Regions from separate parts of the Homo sapiens genome. Here regions 1, 3, 4 and 5 are each linked to region 2. Evidence: promoter capture Hi-C in 16 types of primary human blood cells and fetal thymus (Javierre and others, 2016). All regions are on one chromosome and are shown on one strand. Each heading gives the region's core, a stretch centred on a gene start or on the middle of the fragment in contact. The rest is flanking DNA. Distances are from core to core; before and after follow the strand shown. Region 1 overlaps USP14 (ubiquitin specific peptidase 14). Region 2 holds the start of TYMS (thymidylate synthetase). Region 3 overlaps USP14 (ubiquitin specific peptidase 14). Region 4 overlaps THOC1 (THO complex subunit 1). Region 5 has its middle 11 kb from the start of THOC1.

Evidence for each region. Contacts are between HindIII fragments. The CHiCAGO score rates a contact against its expected background, and 5 or more counts as called.
Region 1: a contact is called between a fragment that was not itself captured here and the fragment with the promoter of TYMS in region 2, in 1 of 17 cell types (M1 macrophages). The highest score is 6.6, in M1 macrophages.
Region 3: a fragment that was not itself captured here is called in contact with the fragment with the promoter of TYMS in region 2 in 1 of 17 cell types (M1 macrophages); the score reaches 5.1 in M1 macrophages.
Region 4: a fragment that was not itself captured here is called in contact with the fragment with the promoter of TYMS in region 2 in 1 of 17 cell types (M2 macrophages); the score reaches 6.4 in M2 macrophages.
Region 5: a fragment that was not itself captured here is called in contact with the fragment with the promoter of TYMS in region 2 in 3 of 17 cell types (M0 macrophages, M1 macrophages and monocytes); the score reaches 8.9 in M0 macrophages.

What each region holds. Positions count from the first base shown.
Region 1 is chr18:196,162-201,487 of GRCh38, reverse strand. USP14 (ubiquitin specific peptidase 14) reads right to left here. Exons shown (of 16, transcript NM_005151.4): 7 at 4,721-4,851; 8 at 3,792-3,872; 9 at 3,356-3,441; 10 at 2,172-2,286. Among named protein-coding and RNA genes, the nearest start is that of USP14, 40 kb to the right of the region's middle. The HindIII fragment of the contact is 1,836 bases long and covers 1,804-3,639 here.
Region 2 is chr18:653,198-658,902 of GRCh38, reverse strand. TYMS (thymidylate synthetase) reads right to left here and starts at 1,250. Exons shown (of 7, transcript NM_001071.4): 1 at 956-1,250. The coding sequence starts at 1,160. It overlaps TYMSOS (TYMS opposite strand RNA), which reads left to right and starts at 612. Exons shown (of 2, transcript NR_171001.1): 1 at 612-1,061. RefSeq lists enhancers at 538-657, 525-1,024, 1,025-1,526 and silencers at 888-937, 1,108-1,287. The HindIII fragment of the contact is 8,200 bases long and covers 1-5,705 here.
Region 3 is chr18:163,032-168,792 of GRCh38, reverse strand. USP14 (ubiquitin specific peptidase 14) reads right to left here. Exons shown (of 16, transcript NM_005151.4): 2 at 5,340-5,485; 3 at 1,974-2,006. Among named protein-coding and RNA genes, the nearest start is that of USP14, 7.4 kb to the right of the region's middle. The HindIII fragment of the contact is 966 bases long and covers 1,724-2,689 here.
Region 4 is chr18:225,906-231,946 of GRCh38, reverse strand. THOC1 (THO complex subunit 1) reads left to right here. Exons shown (of 21, transcript NM_005131.3): 12 at 5,046-5,146. Among named protein-coding and RNA genes, the nearest start is that of THOC1, 39 kb to the left of the region's middle. The HindIII fragment of the contact is 4,135 bases long and covers 2,650-6,041 here.
Region 5 is chr18:276,404-282,226 of GRCh38, reverse strand. No RefSeq gene overlaps it. Among named protein-coding and RNA genes, the nearest start is that of THOC1, 11 kb to the right of the region's middle. The HindIII fragment of the contact is 3,024 bases long and covers 636-3,659 here.

The sequences.
Region 1 (5,326 bases), core at 1,472-3,971, 460 kb after region 2:
ATGCCCTTTAACAACCCTTCCCCTTGCCAACCTTATCCCAAACTATAGATGAGAGCCCCCAGATAACAAATCATCTTGTTTATCAACATAATCCATGTCCCACTTCAGTGTTTATCAACCCACCTCCTCTGCCCAAACTAGGCCTCTGCACAGAGGACCTATTCCAATGTCTCATCATTTTTCACTGACTTTTCTTCCTTCAAGACTTCTCTTTATTGGTCATGGTTAGAGGAGACAGCAAAGAGGATCAACCAGGATTTTTAAAAATTCTGCCCTCCAGGCCCTTCTTCAAATATCTAGATGTTGCAATGGCTAACTTTTATTCATGCATTTATTTTTCATACAACTGTGTTTAGGAAGAAGCTAACTTTTAAAATAAATAATCCTGGCTGGGCACGGTGGCTCATTCCTATAATCCCAGCACTTTGGGAGGCCGAGGTGGGCGGATCACAAGGTCAGGAGATTGAGACCATCCAGGCTAACATGACAAAACCCTGTCTCTATCAAAAATACCAAAAATCAGCCAGGTGTGGTGGCACGCACCTGTAGTCCCAGCTACTCAGGAGGCTAAGGCAGGAGAATCTCTTGAACCTGGGAGTCAGAGGTTGCAGTGAGCCGAGATTGTGCCACTGCACTCCAGCTTGGGTGACAGAGAGAGACTCCGTCTCAAAATAAGTAAATAAATAAATAAAATAAAATAAAATAAACAATCCTAATTATCAGTGCTTTTGAAGTGGAATCACATGAACTATAATTTGAAAACTATTAAAAGGTATCAGTTCAAATGGGGAGATCCTTCGAGAGATATACATATCCCCAAAGCACACCAAATTAGTAAGTCAGCAAGCAAAACCGTATGTTTTATCCATGGGCTTATTAGCAGAGTGGAAGCTGACATTTTATGTGAGTCCGTATTCTTTAGTATGGCACTGGAAAAGCAGCACTAACTGAATAATGAAAGAAGCAAGTTCTAGTTCTGGCTCTGCCAAAAGCCAATTAGGTTACTTTAAATTCCAGGGCCTCAACTGCAAGACAGTGCAATGGCAGAACGACTACATGCCCTGATTTGCACAGAAAAATCCCAGTTTATATTGCATAATTACTAACATACCCTCATTCACTCTCCACCAAAGTGTCCTGGTTTAGACAATACATTATATGATCACCCTTAATGGTTAAGAGCACAAACCCACAAACAACCCTATAGTTACTCTCATTTTCACGTAAGAAAACAGTAGCTTAGATTAAGTAATTTTCCTTAAAGTTAACAGTTCAGCTAAGTTATAGGGCCCATGAAAACAACTATCTCTAAGGAAAAATCTTAACAAACATGTAAACTATTCAACAAACATTTCTTGAGTGCTTTAAAATAAAGCAAGGTACAGCACAAAGCACTAGGTGCTTCTTCACAGTGTGAAGCAGGAACACCCAGTGATTAAAAAGTGAGATGTCCCAATATTTGTTAGCATATGCAACCATGTCAATAATGCTTTTGTCTATGAAATGAAGAGCTAGTTGAAGTTTGTTTGATTTCTGACTATACAGTTGATTTTGTTAGTCACGGTAATTATGTTCTACAAAGTCACCACAAGCACTGAATCAATGAATACTGAACCACTGCTCCTAGGGGAAATACAGGATTAGATTCCCGCCAGCCTTTGATCACAACATTTTCATCAACCAATCAATACATAACCTTGTTTTATGTGTGTTTCTGTTTAAGGACACCTTATTTCACATATTGTGTTGATTAATTAACATTGAACTCAGAGCCAACAGTGCAACGCAGGCCCAACTGAAGCTTCTCTAACAAGTATATTTTCTCAGTAAGGCACATCACAGCCTTCCCACACCTAGAAACACTAGACAGCACTCAGCCCTGTGCTTGGGGGGTCATCTTAAACAGTGAAATAACCAACAAAAAGCAGAAATTTTTTTTTAAAACAACAGTTCTAACATTCCTGCTAAAATGGTATTTGTTTACCAAGCTGAAACAAGAAGGCCAAGTACTTGTTTGACCTCAGATGGGACTGTGTGTATCGGGCAACTCAAAATGCGTATTGCTCTGCACATGTCTACAAATGACCATTAAAGCCCAGTGAATAATGACTTTGGCTTACTCGCAAACATGGAATTCACAAACAACAAGGATGGACTGAGATTGTCCTTACCAATTTAAGTCCTGTAAAAAGATACTTGACTTCCTGATTGATAAAACAGCTAAGCTGAAGTTGATTTTCCTTTCCTTTGGTGACTTCTTCTTCTTCAGATTCTGTACATTTCATGCTTTGTAAACTAAGATAAGGAATATGCCAACGGGTATTCAATTTGTTATATACTCTTGAATATAATACATTATCCTAATTCCATTAAAATTAATAGTATCATTCATTGGCATTTAAAACCTTTTAGTCTCCCAAGATTCATTTCAACATACTTAAGAATGTTCATTTGGCTACCAACAATTCTAGAAACAACAATGAGTAATAAATGTGTATTAAAAGATAAACTGCAATAAACTCTAAACTATAAGCTGGTATTTAGTATGGTCTTATAATGGTCTTAGAAGCCCAAAGGTACATAAATTGTTTCTAAGTTTTTCTAACCATGACCTAGAAGACAGTACTTTCCTGATTCATGTTTTATTAACTGGTTCAATCTCATGTATAGTTGATACACACCCTTTTATAAAATTAAAAAATTCTTTTTTTATTTTAAAAGTTATTATTAACAGTCACCTTGACATATAAGAAATTAATTCTTTATAAGGTGAATGAAAATGAGGTAGACTCTGCTAAAGATGTTCTTAGGAAAAAATAATAAATATCCTTCAAGAAATAAATTTAAAATAATTATATTAATCAAAACATAATGAATAATCCCATTATCCTTCAAGATCACTCCAATAGGTATATTTTTCCAAATTCCTAATTTCCATTATTGTATTTTTTTAGGTATAAAAACCTCTGGGCTGGGCGCGGTGGCTCACACCTGGAGGCCAAGGTGGGTAGATCAACTAAAGTCAGGAGTTCAATACCAGCCTGACCAAGAGGGTGAAACCCCATCTCTACTAAAAATACAAAAAATTAGCTGGGTATGGTGGCATGCACCTGTAATCCCAGCTACTTGGGAGGCTGAGGCAGAACTGTTTGAACCCAGGAGGTGGAGGTTGCAGTGAGTCAAGATCACACCATTGCAATCCAGCCTGGGCGACAAGAGCGAAACTCCGTCTCAAAGAAAAAAAACCTCTGAAGAATTTTTCTTCTACCCACCACCAATCAATCAGCCAATGATGCTATTTATGCCAATTCTAATAAGGTATGAGTATAGTCTATATCTTGGCTCATAAGGATACGTAGTTTCAAACTCAACACCGAAGAACTGATCGATTAAACTTTTCTTTTTAGAAGGTGTCGCTGCCGATGCAGATGAGGAGTCTGTCTGCAAAAATTAAAATAAAAATTCCAACTTTATATAAATATTAATGTAGATTTTCTTCCACACAATCCAGTTTAGTAATACATATTTTTTTAAAAATGTAGTCCCTTACAGTAAAATCCTTCAAAAAACATTACCAAAAATCAACAATGAATTAAGTTTAATAAATAATACATTAAATTTAAATGTCGTATGCAAGCTTCCAAATTCTGACTACAGATTGAGCATCTAAAGTATTTAAATACACATCTACCTATAAGATGGAACTTATTTTAAGCCTTTGAGGGGAAAAAAAATAAAAAAAAAAATCAAGGTATAACGAAAGTCTATAATCACAAATATATTTCAATTACCTCTTTAACAGAATCATCCTCTATTGCTTCCAATTTCTGTTGCAATACTCGCATCATTTGTATCCAACATTCATTAGCATCCTGTAATGTAAAAAAAGACAAAGTAAGTAATCCTGGCAGTGAATGATCTACAAAGTTCTTCCAAAATAATCACTGTCTCCTAGGCAAGAAAGTGGTTTCCTTCTTTAAAAATATTAAGCCAAATAAGACATACGATCTTCCAAAAAATAAAGCATTCTAGAATAGCTTATTCATTCAACAGACATCTGCTGAGCTCCAATTTGTGCTAAACACTGTACTAGATACTCAGCATAATAGCAGTGAATATATAAAATTCAAGTAGAGATAAGGGTTATGAAGCGAAAAAAAGCAGGATGGAAACAGTAAGTGATCAGGGGAAGGGAAGTGTGCTGTTCCAATAAGGTCATCAGGGAAAGCCTAAGGCTTTGGCCTTGGAGCCATGAGACCTGAAGGAGGTGAGGGAGCTGGTCTTGCACTTATCTGACAGCCAAAGAACAAGAGCAAAGGCCCTGCAGGAAGAGGGCACTTGAAAGGTTTAAGGAAGCCTGTGCAGCTGGAGAGAGGCAAGCAAGGGACAGAGTGGTAGTGATGAACTCAGAGAGAAAGCCAGGGGCTAGAGGATTTAGGACTGCGGTAGAAAATCACTAGGGAGTACTGAACAAGGGGCCAACATAATCCTATCGTCATTTTAAAAAGGACATTGCGGGCTGTGTAGAGAAACTGCAAAGGGGCAAAGGCAGAAGCCAGATATCAGTTAAGACTACTGTGCGGCTCCAGGCAAGAGACAGCCGTGGCATGAACTAGAGAAGACTGATGTTTATATTTCGAACTATGTTCCAGTAAGTACGGTAAATGTAGGAAACCTAAGTTTTACATTTACAGAATGAAAAATACCTTGCCCTAATTACCTGTTGAAGATACTGTCCTTGTTCACCTTTCTCGGCAAACTGTGGGAAAGCCATGTGCAAAAACTGCAGTAGAATAATAGGTGGAATACTGGAAGAAGTTTTATCCATGGAATCAAACAAATCTCTAAGGGCTTAAAGACAAAGCAAACATTGCCTTAGTAAAACAGTCACATATTTAATACACGCGACTGTAAATTAATTTTAATTAATACAAACAAAAACTTACTTAATTTTTTTTTTTTTTGAGATGGAGTCTTGGTCCGTTGCCCAGGCTGGAGTGCAGTGGCGCGATCTCGGCTCACCGCAACCTCCGCCTTCTGGGTTCAAGCAATTCTCCTGCCTCAGCCTCCAGAGTAGCTGGGATTACAGGCACACGCCACCATTCCCGGCTAATTTTTTGTATTTTTTTTTTTAGTAGAGATGGGGTTTCACCATGCTGGCCAGGCTCTGGTCTCCAACTCCTGACCTCATGATCCGCTCACTTCAGCCTGTAACCCCAGCTATTCGGGAGGCTGAGGCAGGAGAACTGCTTGAACACAGAAGGGCCTCCCGAGTAGCTGGGATTACAGGAGCATGCCACCATGCCTGGCTAATTTTTGCATTTTT
Region 2 (5,705 bases), core at 1-2,500:
CTAGATGGGTCCGTGGGCCGGAGGGCTTTTCCGCTAGCTACAGTGAATCTGCTTCACCACGAATGGGTTTCCCCATTCAAAACCACCTCCACCCCTGTGTCAAGGCTGCGCTCCATTTATCTGAGCGGTCAAGGTCAGCCCCTGGCTCACACACCTTCGAGTCCCCTCCCCCGCGCAGCTGGCGCAGGATCCAGGACGGCAGGACGGTGTGGCCTTAGGGAGGGCCAACGGCTGCCTAACGTCCTGTGCCCACCCCGCCCCGCCCCACTGTCCCCTGAAAGCCTGGCGCCAATGACCCGCGAGACATTTTTTGCCTGGGGTGCTCCTGTCGGAAAGGAAAGAGGAAAGGACGACTAAGAACTTATACTCGAACTCCCGAATTTCTCTTTTCAAGGTTTAAGAGGAAAGCTGGTTCGTGGGGATTGGATGGGAGGCCACCAGGAAACCAAGTTCCCGCGCCAGCTTCAGTGCTCTCCTCTTCCCGCCGCCTTTGCCCCGCCCACATCACTTTCGCTCCAGTTTTTGAAAACGCTGCGAAGCGGAATGGTCCACAGGGGAAAACGGAGGAGGGGCCAAAGCCAGGACTTTGAGACCGGCGCGCGGTCAAGCCCAGGCAGCTCTCCCTAACCCTCCAGCACTGGGCAAACGCTGCCCGATGACGCCCGCCTCGGGGGCCACGGCATCACTGGGGCGACTGCGAGCCCGGCCGCGGAGCCGCTGGGACGCGGCTTACCTCCCGGCTGTCGCTGCTGTGTGTGTTGCCCGCGCCAGTCACGTCCCTAATGGGACCCTCCGTTTCGGCGTCTGTAAGGCGAGGAGGACGATGCGTCCCCTCCCTCGCAGGATTGAGGTTAGGACTAAACGGGGTCCGCAGCGCCCGGCAGCTCCCGAGCGCTCTCCCCAGCCGCGCCTCCCTCCTTCCCGCCACCCGTCCCGCAGGGGCCCGCGGCGTCACCTCTCAGGCTGTAGCGCGCCTGCATGCCGAATACCGACAGGGTGCCGGTGCCCGTGCGGTCGTCCTTCCTGACGCCGCAGCGGAGGATGTGTTGGATCTGCCCCAGGTACTGCAGCTCCCCGTGCGGCGGACGCGGCTCGGCGTCCCGCTCCTGTGCGGCGGGGGGCAAGGGCCGGCGCGGCAGCTCCGAGCCGGCCACAGGCATGGCGCGGCGGGCGGGGGACGGAGGCAGGCGAAGTGGCGCGGCGGGACGGAGGCAGGCCAAGTGGCGCGGCGGGACGGAGGCAGGCCAAGTGGCGCGGTGGCAGGACCCCTTCCGCGCGCCTTTTCCCGCGGCCGTCCCGCGCTCCGCCTCTTCCTGCTCGGCGGGGTCGCGGCGGCCCCCGCTCTAGAGAGCGTGCGCCAGGGGGAAACGCAGGAGCCACGGGTGTGGCACAGAACGGAGCCCAGGGCCACAGCTGAGAGTCTTAGGAAACCCGGGAACCTGGATGCAGGTGCGGTGGCTGGGAAGGACTGCGCCCTTTGGGAACCGTCTGGTCGACCGCGCCTTCTCTAAGCCAGCAGCACAGTTCCCACGTTTTCCTGCGGTCTTGTCAACAAAACTGCTGTTTGAGATCTGTTTCCTACAACTAATAAGGGATTTGCATTTCCATTTCTTCGTTCTCACTGAAGCAACCGAAGCAAGTGGTATAATGCAGCTTTTCTACTTGATTAAAAACCGCCAGGGCGCTGGACGCGGTGGCTCACGCCTGTAATCCTAGTACTTTGGGGGGCCGAGGCGGGTGGATCACCTGAGGTCAGGAGTTCAAGACCAGCCTGGACAACATGGTGAAACCCCCGTCTCTACTAAAAGTACAAAAATTAGCTGGGCGTGGTGGCTACTTGGGAGGCTGAGGCAGAAGAATTGCTTGAACCTGGGAGGCAGAGGTTGCAGTGAGCCAAGATCCGACCATTGTACTCCAGCCTGGGCGACAGAGCAAGACTGTCCCAAAAAAAAAAAAAAAAAAAAAAAAAAGACCGCCAGGGCTTTTCCGAGGTTTTTTGTTTGAGCCCTGGCGGTCTTTTTTTTTTTTTTTTGAGACAGAGTCTCGCTCTCTCACCCAGGCTGGAGTGCAATGGTGCGATCTCGGCTCACTGCAACCTCCGCCTCCTGGGTTCAAGCAATTCTGCTGCCTCAGCCTCTCGCGTAGCTGGGACTACAGGCGCCGCCACCACGCCCGGCTAATTTTTTTTTTTCATGTTTAGTAGAGACGGGGTTTCGCCATGTTAGCCAGGCTGGTCTCAAACTCCTGACCTCAGGTGATCCACCCACATTGGCCTCCCAAAGTGCTGGGATTACAGGCGTGAGCCACCGCACTCGGCCCCAAGTTTTTAATAGACCACATTTCCCAGTTTTACTGAATTGTTTATAACATTAACACTGGGGAGTGGGAACTGTTGATGAAAAGAGTTAAACTCTGTAAAATATCTGAAGAAATTTATTCTGAGCCAAATATGAGTGACCAATGGCCGGTGATAGAGCCCTCAGCAGATCCTGAGAACATGTCCCCAAGGTGGTTGGGCTACAACTTGATTTTTTATACATTTGGTTGAAAGAATTGTTATCTAAAGATCTGGAATCAATAGAGGGCTGGGCGCGGTGGCTCACGCCTGTAATCCCAGCACTTGGGAGGTCGAGGCGGGCAGATCACGAGGTCAGGAGATTGAGACCATCCTGGCCAACATAGTGAAACCCTCTCTACTGAAAATACAAAAATTAGTGGGGCGAGGTGGCACACGCCTGTAACCCCAGGTACTCAGGAGGCTGAGGTAGGAGAATCGCTTGAACCCAGGAGGCGGAGGTTGCTTGCAGTAGCTGAGAAAGCGCCACTGCACTCCAGTCTGGGTGACAGAGCCGTATGGGGAAAAAAAAAAAAAAGATTTGAATGAATAGAAAGGAATATCTGGGTTAAGATAAGGGGTTGTGGAGACCATGGATTCATCATGCAGATTAAACCTCCAGGTAGCAGGCTTTAGAGAGATAGATTGTAAATGTTTCTTGTCAGACTTAAAGAGTGTGTTCTACCTGTCTTGAGGCCTGTGTTGATGTCAATGCTGGTCAGCTGTGCCTAAATTCCAAACGGAGGAGGGAATAATGAGGCATGTCTGGCTCCCCTTCCCATCATGGCCTGAACTAGTTTTTGTGGTTAAATTTGGAATGCCTTTGACCCAGAGGAGTGGTCTTTTCAGATGGTTCTGGGCGTAGAATTTTATTTTTGGTTTACAGAACGATTTTATAATGAGTTTAAAATGCACTGATACATGTGTTGTACTTGCAAGCATCCTTTTACCTCAACGGTTGATTGAGTACAGAGGTGCTCTCAGCATTTTGGGTGGGACTTTTCTTAGCTGGACCGGTTTGTTCTGCACATTGCAGGGCTTTAGCAGGACTGTGGAAAGCCAACCATATGTTGGCATTCCCCCACCCCACACCAGCTGAAAACTGTCCCTACACGTTTCCCTACACGTTTCCGAGCACGAGGAAGATCCCAGGCTGAAAATATTCCAGATTATCCAGATGCACGTTATCTGTGTTTAATTTCCTTGTGTTATTCTTTTTCCTTTTTTTTTTTTTTTTTTTTTTTTGAGGTGGAATCTTGCTCTGTCCCTCAGGCTGCAGTGCAGTGGTGCTCAGCTCACTGCAAACTCCGCTGCATGGGTTCAAGCAATTCTGCCTCAGCCTCCCAAGTAGCTGGAACTATAGGCGCCTGCCACCATGCCCAGCTAATTTTTTTTTCTTTTTTTTTTTTTTTGCATTTTTAGGAGAGACAGGGTTTCACCATGTTGGTCAGGCTTGTCTCAGACTTCTGATCTGAAGTGATCTGCCCACCTCGGCCTCCCAAAGTGCTGGGATTAAAGGCGTGAGCCACCATGCCCAGCCTTACTTGTGTTATTTTTTAAAAACCTGATACATAATAATTGTGAGGTAGACAGGGCTTGACTCTGGAGGCAGGGCTCTGACATGGGACCAAATTGAGGAGTAGTCAAAACAAGGATGGGGCAGAAGTAGTTTTCCATAAGACGTGCCCACCAGTGTGCCATGTCAGTTTACGATTGTCATGGCAACATCCAGAGCTTACTGCCCCTTTCCATGGCAGTGAGCCGACAACCGGAAGTTACCACCCTTTTTCTAGACATTTCTGCATAATCTGCCCCTTAATTTGCATGTAATTGAAAGTAGGTTATAAATATCACTGCAGACCTGCCTTTAAGCTACTGCTGTCAGCACACTGCCTATAGGGTAGCTCTGCTCTACAGGGGCACTCAGGGAGCTGTTGCCATATCAGTAGAGCTTTTCTTCTACCAGGTAGCTCTTAAATTCTTTCCTGAGCAAAACCAAGAACCCTCCTGAGCTAAGCCCAATTCTGGGCTCACCTGCCCTGCATCAGTTGCACATCCTTGTGTGTTTTTTTTCTTTCTTTCTTTTTTTCTTTTCGACGGAGTCTCGCTCTGTCACCCAGGCTGGAGTGCAGTGGCAGAATCTCAGCTCACTGCAACCTCTGCCTCCCAGGCTCAAGCAATTCTCCTGCCTCAGCCTCCCGAGTAACTGGGATTACAGGCACCCATCACCATGCCCAGCTAGTTTTTGTATTTTTAGTAGAGATGGAGGTTCACCATGTTAGCCAGGCTGGTCTCGAACTCCTCACCTGAAGTAATCTGCCTGCCTCGAGCCTCCCAAAGTGCTGGGATACAGGCGTGAGCCACTGCACCCGGCCCCTTGTGTTATTTTGAGGCTGGTTTATTTGTTTCACCCAAATACCAGCTAAATCACATCTCAAGACTAGGCTCCTCTGCCCACATGGAGCTTCCACTTCTGCTGCCTTCCTTGAGTATCTTGGCTTGATAGTAAAGACAGAATGGTTCTTTTCAAAGTAGTTACTCCATAAATGTTGGTTAGAATGAATGGTTCTCTCAGACAAATTTCATTCATTCATTCATTAACACACATTTATATCATGGTGCCTTCCTCATGTCTACAAACAGCAAGACAGACAAGGCCCTTTTCTTCATAGAACTGATATTCTGGCAGTGACAAACACTACAAAAGTAACCAAACAAGACATCTGCAGATAGTGACAAGTGTGATGATAGTAAATTAATGGGTATAGCACTAAACAGTGATTGTGTAGAGGGTGCTTTAGATCTGATCACCAGGAGGCCTCATTGAGGAAGTCACATTTGAGCTGAGACCTGAATACTGGGAAGAAACCAGCAGGGGAAGATCTGGGGAAAGAACATTCCAATCAGCAGGTGCATTTATACCAGTAGGTGCCACAGTGCTTGCATCTATAAAAACATCCCCCAATAGGGACGGTCATGATGCTTAATCCTGTCTTGTTCTAGGAAGAAATAATAATTATTAGTGGATACGTTAACTTATTGGAGTATAAAAAGCTCTTCCTTCTCATTAAGAGATATATTTGTTTAAAATTTTACTTTTATATGTTTAGTAGTCATAGAAATTTGTAGTATATTTATGTTATTTTGATCAATTATGTACAAAAAATAATTATAATGATCACCCAATCTAGAATAAATATTTCATACCTAGAATTTGATGTCACAGGATGTTCTTAATTTTTAAAATTTAAAAATGATCAAAATTGTGTTGATCAACAAAAGATATTTAAGCATAAAAATATACTACATTAGGATAAAATTCTTAGGAATGTAGATTGAAATAAGAGTTTAGGGAGAAAATGTAATGAGA
Region 3 (5,761 bases), core at 957-3,456, 490 kb after region 2:
CCACTCTTATCACTTTCTATTAACACTGTATTAGAAGTCCTATTAAAAAGTAGGACAAGGCCTGGCACAGTGGCTCACGCCTGTAATTCCAGCACTTTGGGAGATCAAGGCAGGCAGATCACTTGAGGTCAGGAGTTCGAGACCAGCCTGGCCAACGTTGCGAAACCCTGTCTCTACCAAAAATACAAAAATTAGCCAGGCATGGTGGTAGGCGTTTGTAATCCCAACTACTCAGGAGGTTGAGGCAGGAGAATCACATGAACCCAGGAGGCAAATAATGCAGTGAGCCAAGATCACACCACCACACTCCAGCCTGGGCGACAAAGCAAGACTCTGTCTCAAAAAAAAGAAGTCATTTGCTTATCAATTATATGTCAATAAAGTTTAAGAAATCTGAAAGTCACGAATATTGAAAAGGGAGAAGTAAAATTGTCATTATTTGCAGATAACACGTTTATGTACACAGAAAACCCAATGGAATCTGCCCAAAACACAACTGGAATTAGTAAGTGAATTGCTTACAAGAATAAAGAATGAAAATAAACTTAGAAAAATCAACTGTATTTTGGCCGGGTGCGGTGGCTCACGCCTGTAATCCTAGCACTCTGGGAGGCCAAGGTGGGCGGATCACCTGAGGTCGGGAGTTCGAGACCAGCCTGACCAACATGGAGAAACCCCATCTCTACTAAAAATACAAAAGTTAGCTGGGCGTGGTGGTGGGCGCCTGTAATCCCAGCTCAGGCAAGAGAATTGCTTTAACCCGGGAGGCAGAGGTTGCAGCGAGCCGAGATCGCGCCATTGCACTCTAGCCTGGGCAATAAGAGTGAGACTCTGTCTCAAAAAAAAAAAAAAAAAAAAGAGAGAAAAATCAATTGTATTTTTACATTCTAGCCATGAACACTGGAAATATTTTTTAATATTATTTTAAGCAGCGAACAAATGTTAAGTTCCAATAATTTAAGAGAAGTCATGCAAGGGCTGGGCACAGTGACTCACACCTGTTAATCCCAGCACTTTGGGAGGCCAAGGCAGGAGGATCGCTTGAGCCCTGGAGTTCAAGACCAGCCTGGGCAACATAGTGACACCCCCATCTCTACAAAAAATAATTAAAATTAATTAATTAACTGGGCATGGTAACACCCGCCTGTGGTCCCAGCTACTTGGAAGGCTGAGATGGAAGGACTGCTTGAGGCTGGGAGTTTAAAGCTGCAGCGAGCCATGACCATGCCACTGTGCTCCGGCATACGTGAGAGTGAGACCCTGTCTCAAAAAAAAAACCACTCATGCAAAACCTCTATGTTTAAAAACTACAACTCTGCTAAGAGAAAAACAGAGACCTAAATAAATAAGGAAGTACATCATATTCAGGGATTTTAATACTCAATATTGTTAAGATGTTTATTCTCCCCAAATTGAGCTACAGATTCAATGTAATCTCAAACAAAATCTCAAAGAGGAGAAAGTTGGAGAGCATAAGAACATATACTATCTTATTTCAAGACTCTTTTTTTGGAGACGGAGTCTCGCTCTGTTGCCAGGCTGGAGTGCAGTGGCACGATCTCGGCTCACTGCAATCTCCGCCTCCCAGGTTCAAGTGATTCTCCTGCCTCCTGCCTCTGCCTCCCGCCTCAGCCTCCCACCTCAGCCTCCCGAGTAGCTAGGATTACAGGCGTGCACCACCACACCCAGCTAATTTTTTTTTCAAGGCTTTTATTATAAAGCTTTAGTAATCAAAACCATTTGGTACTAGTGTAACTTTAATCTACTAGATCAATGAAACAAAAACCCAAAAACAAACCTATAACTACTTTTCAAGAAAGAGCCCAACACAAGTCAATGGGAAAAGGTAAGTATTTTCAACAGATAGTGCTGGAACAACTGGATATACACATGAAAAAAAGTCATCTGGAATGTATTTTGGTATCATAATGAGGTTACTGCATTATAATAAACGTTCATAAGATAATACTTACATTTTTTATTTTGATGTTTCCCCAATCATCATCCTGTTTCAAAGACAAACAAAAGACATTTAACCACCACTGTACAAGCTGAACACAATCTAATAATCAATTTATTTTAATGTACTTCAAAACAGAATAAAATTTATCCTATATGCAGATTTTATTTAAAATTATGGCAATTAAAAAAATTTTTTTTGGCCAGGCACAGTGGCTCACGCCTGTAATCCCAGCACTTTGGGAGGCTGAGGCAGGCAAATCACCTGCGGTCAGGAGTTCGAAACCAGCCGGACCAATATAAAGAAACTCCATCTCTACTAAAAATACAAAAAGTAGCTGAGCATGGTGGTGCACACCTGTAATTCCAGCTACTCGGGAGGCTGAGACAAGATAATTGCTTGAACCCAGGAGGCAGAGGTTACAGTGAGCCGAGATCTCACCACTGCACTCCAGCCTGGGCAACAGAACAAGGCTCCATCTCAAAAAAAAACAAAAATTTTTTTTAAACACAAGTGGTACTAAAGCCAGGGTTTCAAATAATTTGCTTCAACTGCATAAGGTAACACAATACAAAAGGCAGTAACCTGTATTTACAGCATCAAATACTAAAAAACACATAAGTATAAAAAAATACTTTTAGCAAGTACTAAAAAACACTTGACTAATGACAAATGATAGATCCTATTTTTTGGATGTTTGGAACCAGCAGAGCTAATAAATAACAAGCTTACGTGGCAAGAATGAAGAGTTAATGTCTATAACGCATCTATAAAGCAAGTATATACTTTCCTTTCAATATGTTGAATAAAAATCAAGAATTTTTTTTTTAAATGCATGATTAGTCCAGAGTAATATTTTTACTAACTACAGCTAGGCCTTTCCCCTCATAGGATAAAGTCGATTCTATATTACTCCCTTTTATAGAAGGTATCGGGTACCCAATATGCTTGTCTACCCTTCATTGGTGCCACTAATTATCTCTTTTATCTGCTTTAAAATGGAACGGTAACTTCCTAAAGGCCCTTCTCAATTTAAGGTCTATGACTGCTAAACATAATGAATGATAACTATAAATGCCCCCTAAGATCACTTACCCAAGGTCACACAAAACTGGGAAGTGAACACAGATCTGCTTGATGTATAAATCATATGCTCTTTTGGTGCCTTACTATGTTACTTAAACCTCTTTGACACTCATTTATAAAATTTCCTCATATATAAGATATGGATAACATACAGCTGAGAATTAAAGAAAATATAATAAAAGCCTGACATAAAATAAGTACTCAATAAATGGTAACCATTAGCAGTCACAGTTTCATTTAATTCGCATACTTCTATAATTCTCGACAGCATACCACTAGTACAGTGTTCAGCATAGATTAGGCTATGAAGTTCACTAAAGGCCAAAGGTTCATACTGTACCTTCGGGGGTAAACAAAGATTTTCCTCCAACGTGTGTTTTACTGCCCAGTGGGGGTAGCCTGTCTTTATCTCTAAAGTTAACTATAGATCTTTAGCATTTTATCTAACCCTTGAAGGAAGTATTTTTTAAAGCTATACTTATATTATTAAAAATAATAGAGGCCGGGTGTGGTGGCTCACGCCTGTAATCCCAGCACTTTGGGAGGCCCGAGGCAGGCATATCACTTGAGGTCAGGAGTTCGAGACCAGCGCCAACATGGTGAAACACTGTCTCTACCAAAAATACAAACATTTGTCACGCATGGTGGTGGTGACCTGTTATCCCAGCTATTCGGGAGACTGAGGCAGGACAGTCACTTGAGCCCGGGAGGCGGTGGTTGCAGTTAGCCGAGATGGCGCCACTGCACTCCAGCCCCTGAGTGACAGAGGGAGACTCAATCCCAAAAAAAATAATAATAATAATAGATATCTTCTTGTCTTTTCTGCAGTCCTTCATCAATGATGCTGGCAGGGATGGATTCTTAACTGTGGTCACTGAGATCATTCCAAAGGAAGTAAAGACAAAAATTAGGTTTCTTCTCTTTTTAAACAAAAATTTTTTCCTCCCATCTCCAGGTAGGAGTTAGGTAACAATTACTGTTTAGAAAAAAGGGGGCTGGGTGCAGTGGCTCACGCCTGTAATCCCAGCTCTCTGGGAGGCCAAGGTGGGCAGATCACTTGAGGTCAGGAGTTCAAGACCAAACTGGCCAACATGGTGAAACCCCATCTCTACTAAAAATACAAAAATTAGCCGGGCATGGTGGTAGACACCTGTAATCCCAGCTACTCAGGAGGCTGAGGCATAAGAATCGCTTGAACCCAGGAGGCGGAGGTTGCAGTGAGCCAAGATAGCACCACTGCACTCCAGCATGGGCAACAGGGCAAGACTCGTCTCAAAAAAAAAGAAAAAGAAAAACAGCTCTTCGTTAATGGGTAGGATGCAATAAAGGCCAAAAAAAAAAAATGAACAGTTTTCCAGAACCAGGGCTTTGGTAAAAATGCTGAAGTGCTTTGAATTTCAACATACAAATGCATGTACAAAATTACATTCTGTAGTAGTTTTTTTAAGAAAACAAACCTATCTGTATTGTTCCACATTTTTAAACTGAGATAAAATTTTCCAACCTCATTACAGAAAATTACTAAGGAAATATTAATTGGTTTCATTTTAGTCTAAACAAAATAAAACTAATACTTTTAATACATCCTCATAGGAAAAAAAATTCACACAATACAGATAACTGTAAAGTGTTCCACTCTCCTGACCCACAGAGGTATCTGGTAATACAACACATTTTAAAATAAAATTTAAATGATGCTTTTAGAACAAAGTCATGTCCTTTACAGCAACATGGATGGAGCTGGAGATCATTACCTGCTAGTTCCCTAGTAAACTAATGCAGGAACAGAAAAGCAAACTGCATGTTCTCTTTTGTAAGTGGGAGCTAAATAATGAGAACACATAGACACATAGACAGGAACAAAAGACACTGGAACTTACTTGAGGGTGGAGAGTGGGAGGAGGAAGAGGATCTAAAAAAAAAAAAAAACTACCTATCGGGTACTATGCTTAGTACCTGGGTGATGAAATCCGTACATTGAAACCCTGTGACACAAGTTTACCTATATAACAAACCTGCATATGTATCTCAGAACCTAAAAGTTAAAAATAAACAAAAGTAAAAAGAGTTTTAAAACGATGTTTTTATAATACCATATAGTGTTGTCAAACAGCTACAATATTTCTCCCTTACTCTAACAGGCATAAGACAGTTTTAACACCATAGCTGACATACTCTCATCATATAAAAAAAGCACTTCAAATGCTACATTAAAATTAAATAATTTTCTGGCGTTATTTTTCAAAAAGTATACAATAATAGTAATGTGATGAAAATTTGGACTACATTTTACCTTTAGCGTTCCTCCTTTCACCATAACTTTCTGTCTGGCAGGCTGGACTCCAGTCAACGCAAACAGCTGAGCCTTGAATACCATTGGAGGTTCATCTGTATTCAATTCTACACCTTCAAATTTCTCCTTTCCCCATTTTACAGTAACTGCAAACAAAATCACAATTTTTTTAATTAAAAAATAACAAGACAAGATTTACAGACCCTTAGAAGATCACCAATTAGGCAGTTATCGGGAGTCAAAACATGTCATTCATCTTTCTATGCCCATAACACTTACCTAATCAAGAGGAGCATGCATGCAGTAGGTGCTGAATAAAATTTCACTGGATCAAACCTAACTTCTCATTTCATAGTTAAAGAAACTGAGACTTCAGCAGGCTGGGCGTGGTGGCTCACGCCTGTAATCCCAGTACTTTGGGA
Region 4 (6,041 bases), core at 3,468-5,967, 430 kb after region 2:
GCCAATCCCTGAACTAGAGCAACATGTATTAAGATGGGTAAATTTCAAACATAGTGTTGTATGAAAATAGCAAATTGCAGAATAGCACATAATGTGTAGAGTTTGAAACAGTGCAAAGTACATCCATATATTATTTATAGATGTTTACATATGTAGTAATATAAAATGTGTATAAAAATCCTAACCGTGAAATACATGGTAGTGGTTACCATAGTAGAGGGAGGGAGGGAAATAGGAGTGGGGAGGGTTATAGAGGGAGCTTCAACAATGTCTATGATATTCTGTTTCTTTAACAGATATGTAACAAGTAAAAAATGTTAGGATTTTATATGTAGCTGGGTAGTGGGTACATGAATGTTGTATTACTTAACTATACCTTTTTGAACATTTAAAATATTTCATAATTTAAAAATTGGATAATTTGATCTCAGCTGATGTGTTATGACAGTTGGTAAGATTTTAATGAGAATGTTCTGAATATTTTCTAGCACATGTTTTTTATGTATTTTGTGTTAAATTGATAGAAATGGAAGATTTCATACACTTTAATTTTACCCAGGAATATTATTTATATGTAAAATTGATTGACAGAGAGGCATGTAAGGATGACTAAAATGAAAAGCATGAGCCTTTTTAGGGTTAGAATATCGGGAAAACTGAGGCCTGAGCTAAGATGTGCCATAAAAGCTAAGGACAGTAGCCTAGTCCAGTGATGTATGCCTGAAGTTCCAGCTATTTAGGAGACCAGGGCGGGAGGATCACTTGGGCCTAGGAGTTCAAGTTCAGCCTGGGCAACATAGCGAGACCCTTCTGTACTAAATACATACATACATACAGCTAAGGATAATAAAAGCCCTTTGCTCAAGATACAAAGACATTTACAAAGAAACATTTGGGCCAGGCATGATGGCCTACACCTGTAATCCCAGCACTTTGTAAGGCTGAGGCTGCAGGATTGCTTGAAGTTCAAAACAGCCTGGAGTTCACAACAGCCTGGGCAACAAAGTGAGACTCTGTCTCTACAAAAAATTTAAAAGAAAAAAATTAGCTGGGCATTGTGGCATATGCCGGTGGTCCTAGCTACTCAGGAGGCTGAGGCGAGAGAATTGGTTGAGCCCCTGAGTTCAAGGCTGCAGTGAGCTATGATGGTGCCATTGCACTCCAGCCTGAGAAGCAGAGTGAGACCCTGTCGCTAAAAATAATAATAATGAAATGTTTGACCCATGACATAGTGTAAATGATATAATTTTTTAAATAACCAAAGAAAAATGGAACTAGATAGTAGATATTATGAAAGAAAGGGTACAATTGAGTGTATTAGTTTTACTCTCAGCTGTGTCACTAACTAGCTGTGTAATCTTGCCTAGGTAGTTTTAACTTTTCTGGACCTAGTTTCCTTAAGTATAATGTGAAGCAGTTAGCTTGAATCACATTAGGTCCTTTCCACCCCTGATTCAGTGTTTTGTTGACTCCTATTTTCAATCCATTGTTTCTATCAAGGAAAATCTTTCAACATAAAAAAATAAAATGAACAGCTAGTAAGCATCACCTAGCCACTTTGGTTCGTCTCTTTAAGCTAGGGGTTCACATCTCTACTCCAGATGTATTGAACTGTGTACTTCGGTCCTTCAAATAGGCCAGTCTCTTATTTGGCTCCCCTTCTTGCACCCCCATCCCCCAACCCCCACTCTCCACCTTTAGGTTTGTTCCTTGTTGAGAGTTTAGATGCTGCTTTCTCCAGGAAGCCTTCCTAGAGTTGCTTGGGCAAATGGATGTTGGAGCCTCTCATTGAATTAGCCAATGCTGGAGAACAGCTTTTGTGGAGGAAATTGATGTTTTACTTTGTTCATGAAATCTGATCAGGTGTCAGTTGAACATTCAGGTAGAGATGTGTGATAGGTTGTCTAGTGTACAAAGCTGGAGACTAGGAACAAGATCTAGGTTGAGAGTATAGTTGTAGGAGTTACCAGTTTATAAATGGTAATTCAAACTGTAGAGTGTATGAAATGAGCTAAAGGGGAGAGTGTAGATTCAGAAGAGAAGAAAATACTGAAATCCCGAAGAAAACCCATGTTTAAGGGAGAATGAAGGGAGAAGAGGAGAAGATTGAAGAGTAACCTGTGAGATTAGAGAAAAACTAGAAAAGCATGCACTCATGGAAGCCAAGCATATCAAGTAGGATGAGGACAGTAAAGAGTGTTCACAGGATTTAACAACAAATAAGTCATTGGTGATCTTGACAAAACACTTTCTTCCCCCGCCCCAAGACCGATTGTTGCTCTGCTGCCCAGGCTGGAGTGCAGTGGCATGGTCTGGACTCATTGCAACCTCCGCCTCCCAGGTTTAAGCTATTCTCCTGCCTCAGCCTCCAGAGTAGCTGGAATTACAGGGCATGCACCACCACGCCCCGCTAATTTTTTTTTTTTTTAAATAGAGACGGGGTTTCACCATGTTGGCCAGGCTGGTCTCGAACTCCTGATCTTGTGATCCGCCCGCCTCAGCCTCCCAAAGTGCTGGGATTACAGGCGTGAACCACCACACCCAGCCGACAAAAACACTTTCAATGGATTAGTGGATGAGGCGGTCAGATGATAGCAGGTTGAGGAGCTGATTGGCAACAGTGCCTATAGTCAATTATTTTAAGAAGCTTTGCTGTTAAAGGGTTAGGTGAGAATGTGGGAGATTTTTGAGGGAGCTTATTTAATGCTTATGGAAAGGAGCTTGGAAAGAATAGGTTGTAGATACAGAAACCAGGGCAGTTAGTTGATGGAACTCAATTGTTAGGGATATTGGGATTCCAGATGGAAGGTAATCCAGATGGAATACCTTTAGCCGTGAAGGAGTTGTGACAGAAGGAAATGAAGTAAACAAAGGTGTAGGTGCAGCTGATTTGTCATTTTGGGGGCCAAGAAATGAAATGCTTTCCAATTTAATTTTTCTTCTCATTGAAGGCAAAAGTAGTTATCTACTGAAAGTGAGAAGGGGTGGTAAAGTAGTATTTTTGCTAAGTGGAAAGGGTTGAAAATCATTACTGTGAAGAGTAGGAGAGAGAATGGCCTTGAAGAATAAAGAAAGATTGCTGATTAAAAACAGATGTTTAAGGTGGTGACAACATACCAGTGGTGCCTTCTGCATAGCTGTGTAATTTGGGGTATTCACTCAGGCACCTCACTTTCAGCTGAGATTGGAATCCTGAGGGTTGGTATAGAGAAGGTGACTAACAGTTGGTTTATTCAAGGTTGCTGTTTGCTCACTAGACATGACAGAAGAAATATGGGACAAGTGTGTTGAAGTTGGCAAGAAAATGGCCGAAGAGATTAACCATGAAGTCTAGACCAGGAGTTGGCAGACTATAGCCTATAGGCCAAATCTGGCCCACCACCTGTGTTGGTTGTTTTTGGTGATTTTGGTTTTTTTTTCCCCCTTACATTTTAGATGTTTAAATACCTACATAATATCCATAATATGTCTCTTAGCCCACATAACCTATTAATAAAAATACTTACTATTTGACACTTCAGGAAAAAGTTTGCTGACCCCTTATCTAGACTAAAATAGGATTATAATAAAATGGGATGGGACTAACAGGCAGAGAATAGACGGGTCAAGGGCCTTAAAGTCTCGGTAAGATCCAAATATTAGGTATATTGGAAGCAACTGAGCGAGAGACCTGGGAAGGATAGAGGTTGTGGTGAGATAGGATTGTGAGTTGAAGACTTCAGATCTGGGGCAGCTGTGAGTGACCCCAGGTCTAGCTGTGGCCACAGTAGTGGGTAGCTGGAGCAGAGATGGGCCTGTCCGTGGAGTTAAGGGCAAGGAACTAACAGCCTGAGTGGAGACAGTCAAGTTGCCCAGGGGCTGGAGGAAGGGAAGGCTGATGGCCGGCCATTCACATTTCCAATTTGGGATAGGAGAGTTAATATAAATAACAATCAAATATATTCAATCCTTAAACGTGAGGGAAACCTGACTGGAAGGCTGATCATTAATTTTTTTTTTTAAGACCTGGAGCCACAGTGTGGAAGGGGTTGCTAGTGAATAGGGAGGCTTGTGCGTGTTAGGTAGCATTAGTAAATGGTACCAACCACGTAAAGCAGAGCCACCAGCACTTGGGACATTGAACCAAAACCAATCTTCGACGCTTCCAGCTGCCTTACTGGCGATTCATTTAGAAGAACGTGGCTTTCCTTTGTTACTGTAGTTTTTGAAGGCAGAACTAGCATGAGTTTGTGGATACAGACTTCAGCCTTCCTTCAGTGTTCCATGCACATAATCAGAATGACCTTCCTTCATCGCCGCAGGTTATTCTTACAGCTGGATGGCAGGGTCGTTGAAGAACTTCCTCATGAGTGACCTTCAAGTCCTTTCTAATCCAGATTCTGTGATAATACAAGTATGATGCAATTTTCACTAAAAGCTAAAAAAAAAAGCCCATCTAATCAGAGATGATCTTCACCTCTAATTTCTTGTTTATTGTCAAGTAATACCTCTGTTGCAGGCACTTTATAGGGCTACAAAAATGAGTGGTCCCCGTTGATATTGTGCTGTTATCCGTATCTTCTTTAGCCATTATTTCTTCATATGTGAGAAAGTAGTAGCCTCAGTTTTACTTTAAAAAAAAATTTTTTTTTTAAATTTAGAGTCTTGCTATGTTGCTCAGACTGATCTCGAACTCCTGAGCTCAAGTGATCCTCCTTCTCAGCTTCCTGAGTAGCTGGGACTATAATAGGCTTTGTGCCACCATGCCCAGCTTACTTTTTTCTATTTCTGCTTTATTTTATCCTCATGTCTGGACCATAGATAGATCATTGTTATCCACCAGCAAGAATGTGTCATGGCATAAAACAGTCAAGAAATCTAAGTGAAACCTTGACTGGGCTGTCTTTGGGCTTGTGCGGTAATGCCTCACATGCAGTGAACTCTCAACAAATGGCTTTTAAATTGAATTGGAATCTTCCATTTCTATATTAGCACATTTTGTACCTTTAGGAAAAACTTGATTTTAATGTGTTGTTTTCGTATGTGTTTGCTTGTTTCTTGAGTAGCTGATGGATTTACAACTGAGTGACAGTAACTTTCGTCGACACATCCTGTTGCAGTATCTCATTTTATTCCAATATCTCAAGGGGCAGGTCAAATTCAAAAGGTAAGATAATATGGGTAGTAAACAATTTGTAAACAGTAGCCAAGAAAAAAAAGGACTTGCTTACGATTTTTCTTATGTATGTGTCCATTTCATGTTAAGGCTGTATCCCTAAAACACATGTATTGCAGCTGATACATTGAAGGCTTTTCGATATTAGGATATTTAAGGAAAAGATGTTAAATATATCTGTCAGTGTGAGTTTTTCCTGCCCAACTCCAGGGCTTGCCAGGAGTTGTCGTCTTTATTAGCAGGTGGAGGTCTCTGCTCCAAAATTCCGTCATTCCCTTCTCACCTCCCTCAGACCTCCTCCAAAGCTGATTTGCAGACTAAGCCAGTAATACATATCTCACAAGGTGTGGAGCTCTGCAGGACATTCAAGCTAAAAGATGCAAAGAAAATTTTTAAGCAAAAAGGAGTTCATTTATTTGGGGTTTCACAAAACCTCATTAGGCTCTCTACTGTCTATCTAAATACTTCCATCCATTTCCTCCTATCCTGTCCATAACTGAAGGTGGAGCCCACTGTTACTTAACGGTATTTGTGTTAAGGACACTGAGCAATGCCGTATTAGTTGTATAATGACTTCACTACCTGCTGGGTTTGAATCCCAGGCTCGTCATTTGCTGGCTGCAGTGCAGCTCTTTCAGACTTGTAATTTTAAGGTAGTAGCACATGGTAAACACTCAAAAAATGTTATTTCTTATCCTTCTATCTATTTTGGAGGTTTGGTATAGCATAGTAGGAAGATGAGGGACTTTGAAGTGAGACGTGGGTTTGAATTAAATCTTTATGGCCTTGGGCAAATCAGTGAGACACGGTAGTCTCTGTTTAATATGTACATGTACTTGTTCCGAGAATTCAATGAATAATGTATGTAAAGTGTTCAGATCCTAGC
Region 5 (5,823 bases), core at 898-3,397, 380 kb after region 2:
CTTCACTTTGCATTTTTATGGTATGGAGATGGCTTCTTTTCTTAAATCTTATGAACCAACCTCTACTAGCTTCAAACTTTTCTTCTGCAGCTTCCTTACTTCTCTCAGCTTTCATAGAATTGAAGAGCATTAGGGCCTTATTACATATTAGGCTTTGGCTTAAGGGAATGTTGCGGAGAGTTTGATATTCAATCCAGACCACTCCAACTTTCTCCATATCAGCAATAAGTCTGTTTCACTTTCTTATCATTCATGTGTTTACTAGAGTAGCACTTTTAACTTCCTTCAAGAACTTTCACCAGCCTGTGCAACATAGTGGGACCCAATCTCTGCAAACAATTTAAGAATTAGCCAGGCATGGTAGGGTGCACCTGTGGTCCCAGTTTCTTAGGAGGCGGAGGTAGGAGGATGGCTTGAGCCTGGGAGGTCGAGGCTGTAGTGAGCCATGATCATGCCATTGTATTCTACCCTGAGTGACAGAGTGAGACCCTGTCTGAAAAAAAAAAAAAGCAAAAATTTTAAAAGAAAGAAAGAAAAAAAAGAACTTTTCCTTTGCATTCACAACTTGGCTGTTTAGCACAAGAGACATAGCTTGTGGCCTGTTTCAGCTTTTGACATGCCTTCCTCACTAAGCTTAATCATTCCTTGCTTTTGATTTAAAGTGAGGACATCCGACCCAGCTTGGTGGCTCACACCTGTAATGCCAGCGCTTTGGGAGACTGAGGCAGGAGAATCACTTGAGGCCAGGAGTTCAGGCTGAAGTGAACTATGATTATGCCACTGTTACTCCACCCTGGGCAACAGAGTGAGACCCTATTTCAAAAAATATATCTAAAGTAAGAGATGTGCAACTCTTCCTTTCACTTGAACATGTAGAGGTCATTACAGGGTTATTAGCTTCCTTTCAATATTGTCTTGTCTCAGGGAATAGGGAGGCCCAAGGAGATGAACAGAGACAAGGAAACGGCAGTAGGTGCAGCAGTCAATGGAGCAGTCCGAAGACACACAACTTTTGCTGATTAAGTTCGCTGTCTTATATGGGTGCAATTCATGACACCCCAAAACAATTATAATAGCAACGTCAAGGATCCCTAATCACAGATCACTATAACAGATATAATACCAAAAAGTTTGAAATATAGAGAGAATTACAAAAATGTGACACAGAGACACAAAGTGAGCACATGATGTTGGGAAAATGGTACCAATGGACTTGCTCAACACAGAGTTGCCATGAACAGTCAACTTGCAGAAAAAACAAACAAACAAAAGAAACAGGCCAGATGCAGTGGTTCATGCCTGTATTCACAGCACTTTGGGAGGCCAGGGTGGGAGGATTGCTTGAGCCCAGGAGTTCAAGACCACCCTGGTCACCATGGTGAAACCCCATCTCTACAAAAAATACAAAAATTAGGTGGATGTGGTGGCATGAACTTCAGCTACTCGGGAAGTTGAAGTAGGAGGATCACCTGAGCCTTTGGGAGGTTGACTCTGCAGTGAGCTGTGACTGTGCCACTGCACTCCAGCCTGGGTGACAAAGTGAGACCCTGTCTCAAACACCCCCACCAAAAAAAAAAAAAAACCCACAACAACAACAAAAATACAATATCGCAATAAAGCAAAACACAGTAAAACAAGGCATGCCTGTATTACATAGATCTTCATTTTCTATATTGGATTCTATTTTCACTTTTGTCAAAAACCAAATAACCAACAGTCTGCATCTGTTTTTGCATACTCTGTTCTGTTCCTTTGGTCTACTTTTCTGCCCTTATGACACTATTTCATTACCTTAATTACAGTAGCTTTATAAAGTCTCAAAATCTGGTAGTGTAATTCCTCTATTATTCTTCGAGATTATTTTAGCTATTAAAATTCCTTTGCATGTCTGTGTAAATTTTAGAATCGCGCTACTCAATTGTTACAAAAAGTATGCTGGGAGTTTTACTAAGAGTGTGTTGAATCTATGACCAATTTGGGGAGAATTGATATGTTTATAATATTTAATCTTCAAAACCATTAAGATGATTTGTCTGTTCAAAGACAAACCATTAAGACAGTGTGTCTCACCAGGCTTGAAATTTCTCCTATAAAGAAGAAATATTTTATCTTCTTTATCTCAGCAATAATTTAAAATTCTTGTACATCTTTTAGGAAATTCATTATTAGGTACTTGAGGTTTATACAATGGTAAACAGTGTGATTTTTAATATTATTTTCCAAATTTTTAGAATTACTATGTAGAAATAAAAATATAGATTGATCTTATTTTATAATCTTGCTATATTAACTTATTCATACTGAGTTATATATCTTTATTATTATTTTTTTTGAGACAGAGTCTCTGTCACCAGACTGGAGTGCAGTGGCACGATCTTGGCTCACTGCAACCTCCACCTCCCGGGTTCAAGCGATTCTCCTGCCTCAGCCTCCCGAGTAGCTGGGATTACAGACATGCGCCCCCCATGCCCAGCTAATTTTTATGTTTTTAGTAGAGACAGGGTTTCACCATGTTGGCCAGGATGGTCTTGATCTCCTGACCTCAAGATCCTCCCACCTCGGTCCCTCAAAGTGCTGGGATTACAGGTGAGAGTCACTGCACCCGGCCTATATACCTTTATTATCTTTTAATTTTCTATGTAAATAATCATGTCATCTGCAAATAAAGATGCTGTACTTGTGCCTTTTCAATCCTGTGCCTTTTGTTGCCTTTTAAAATCTTAATTCAATGGCTAAGACCTTCATTATAATGTTGAATAAAACTGGGTGAACGTGGACATCATCTTGTTCTAGGCTTTTTAGGGGCAACGATTTTAATATTTCACTATCATGATGTTAGATAAAGATTTTTAAAGACATCTTTTATCAGACTGAAAATTTCCCATCTATTTCTAGTTGGCTGAGTTTTTAAAAATCGTGAATAGACATTGAATTTCATCACCTTTCCTGCATTTATTAAGATGCTTATATTTATATTTTTCTCCTTTATTCTGATAACAGTGAATGATATAGACTGACTCCAGATGTTAAATCAAGCCTATATTCCTGGAATAAACCTTACTTGGTCATGATATACTATCCTTTTCAAATTTTATTGGATTTCTGTTTTTTTAGGTTTTTAAGACAGAGTCTTGATCTGTCACCCAGGCTGGAGTGCAAGGGCATCATCTTGGCTCACTGCAACCTTTGCCTCCTAGGTTCAAGCAATTCTTGTGTTTCTGCCTCCCGAGTAGCTGGGATTACAGGTGCAAGCCACCACGCCCAGCTAATTTTTGTATTTTTAGTAGAGATGGAGTTTCACCATGTTGGCCAGGCTGGTCTCAAACTCCTGACCTCAAGTGATCCACCCGCCTTGGCTTCCCAATATGCTGGGATTACAGGCATAAGCCACCGTGCCCAGCCAGGACTTCCTTTTTTCTTTTGGGACTTTTATACCTAAGTTCATAAGGGATATTTATCTGTAATTTTATTTTCTTGTAATGTACTTTTAAGGTTGCGATATCAGAGTTATGCTAGGTTCACAAAACAAGTTGGTAGATGGTTTCTCACTGTTTATTCTCTAAAGACCTTGTGTAAGATTGGTATCATTTCTTCCTTAAATGTATGGTAGAATTTACCAACGCAGCCATCTAGACCTAAAGTTTGCTCTGGAGAAAGCTTTTGATTACCAATTGCATTTCTTTAACAGATATAGGACTATTCATATTTTCTATTTTTTCTTTGTCAGTTTTAGTAACTTGTGTTTTACAAAAATTTTCTGTCTTCTAAATTTTCCAATTTATGGGCCTAAAGTTTTTCATAATAACCTATTATTATTATTATTATTGAGAAAGGGTCTTGCTCTGGAGTGCAGTGGCACTATTGTAGCTCCCTGCAGCCTCCAACTCCTGGGCTCAAGCAATCCTCCCGACTCAACTTCCCAAGTAGCTGGGACAACAGGTGTGTGCCACCATGCCTGGCTAATTTTTTTAATTAATTTTTTTGTAGAGATAGGGCCTCCCTGTGTTGCCCAGGATGGTCTCAAACTCCTGAGCTCAAGTGATCCTCTTGCCTCAGCCTCTCAAAGTACTGGGATTACAGGTGTGAGCCACCATTCCTGGCATATCATATTATCTTTTTAATGCCTGTAGGATCTGTAACAATGTCCCTTTTTCATTTCTGATATTGATAATTTTGCTCCTCTATTTTATTCTTGATTATATTGCTAAAGGTTAATTTATTAATCTTTTCAAAAAACCAACTTTTGGTTTTGTTCATTTTGTCTATTATTTGTTTTCTATTCTGTTGTCCTTATATTTATTATTTACTTGTCTACTTTCTTAGGGTTTCATTTGCTCTTCTTTTGCTCACTTCTTGAGATGGACATTTACTAAATTGATTTTAACCTTTCTTCTAATATATGCATCCAAGGTATACAAATTATACTACAAAATAAAATATGGTAAAGCTATAGATTTTGCTCAGTCATTGCTCTAGCTGCATCCACAAATACTACTAAGTTTCTGGGTTTGTTTGTTTGGTTTTTGATGTTTTGAGACAGGGTCTGGCTCTGTTACCCAGGCTGGAGTGCAACGGCATGATCTTGGCTCACTGCAACCTTCAACTCCCAGAATAAAATCATCGTCCCACCTCAGCCTTCCAAGTAGCTGAGATTACAGTCTCATGCCATCACGCCCAGCTAATTTTTGTATTTTTGGTAGAGACGGGATTTCACCGTGCGGCCCAGGCTGGTCTTGAACTCCTGGGCCCAAGTGATCTGCCTGCCTCAGTTTCCCAAAGTGCTAGGATTACAGGCGTGAGCCACTGCACCCAGTCATATTGGTAAGTTATCATTATCATTACCATCAGTATACAATATTTTCTAAATTCCCTGGTGATTTCTTCTTTGACCTATGCTCTTTCAGGATTTTGTTGCTTAATTCCCAAATAGTTGATTTTTCTAGATATCCTTTGTTTTTCATTTCTAAATTCCATTATTGTAAGAGAACGAATTCTGTATCATTTTAATCCTTTGGTTGTTTTGAGACTCACATTATGACCAAGCATATGGTCTATTTTGGTGAATGATCCATGTGTACTTGAAAAATTCATTCTGCATTTGTTGGGTGTACTGTTTTAGAAATATCAATTATGTCAAGTTTGAAAATAGCGTTCAAATATTGTATGTTTTTATATATGTTCTATCAAATACTGAGAGAAATGTATTAAGATCTCCAACTATAATTATAGATTTCTCTATCCTTTCAGTTCTGCCAATTTTTGCTTCATATGAGGTTTTGTTTTTAAATAGATCCATGTTTAGGACTGTTATGTTTTCCTGATTAGATTATTGTTTAATTATTAAGAAATTAGCTTCTTTACTTCTGATAATACTCTTCATCTAGAAGGCTGCTTTTTCCTCAATATAGTAATACTGTATTTCTCATGATTAGTGTTTGCTTATTTTTCCATTCTTTTACTTTAAGCCTATTCTTATTTTTAAAGTGTATTCTTTTGAACAGTTGGTAGTTGAAACTTGTTTTCTCTTTTTTCTTTTTCTTTCTTTATTTTTTGAGACAGGGTCTTCCTCTGTCACCCAGGCTGGTGTGCAATGGCACCACGGTAGCTCACTGCAGCCTCGAACTCCTGGGCCCAAGCAGTCCTCTCACGTCAGCTTCCCAATTGGCTAGAACTGCAGTGGCACACCACCATGCCTGGCTGATTTTTATTGTTTAAGCCAGGCTGATCTCAAGCAATCCTCTTGCCTCAGCCTCCCAAAGTTCTAGGATTACAGGCATACCTGGCCAGAGGCTTGTTTTCTTAATCCAGACTGATAGTATATGA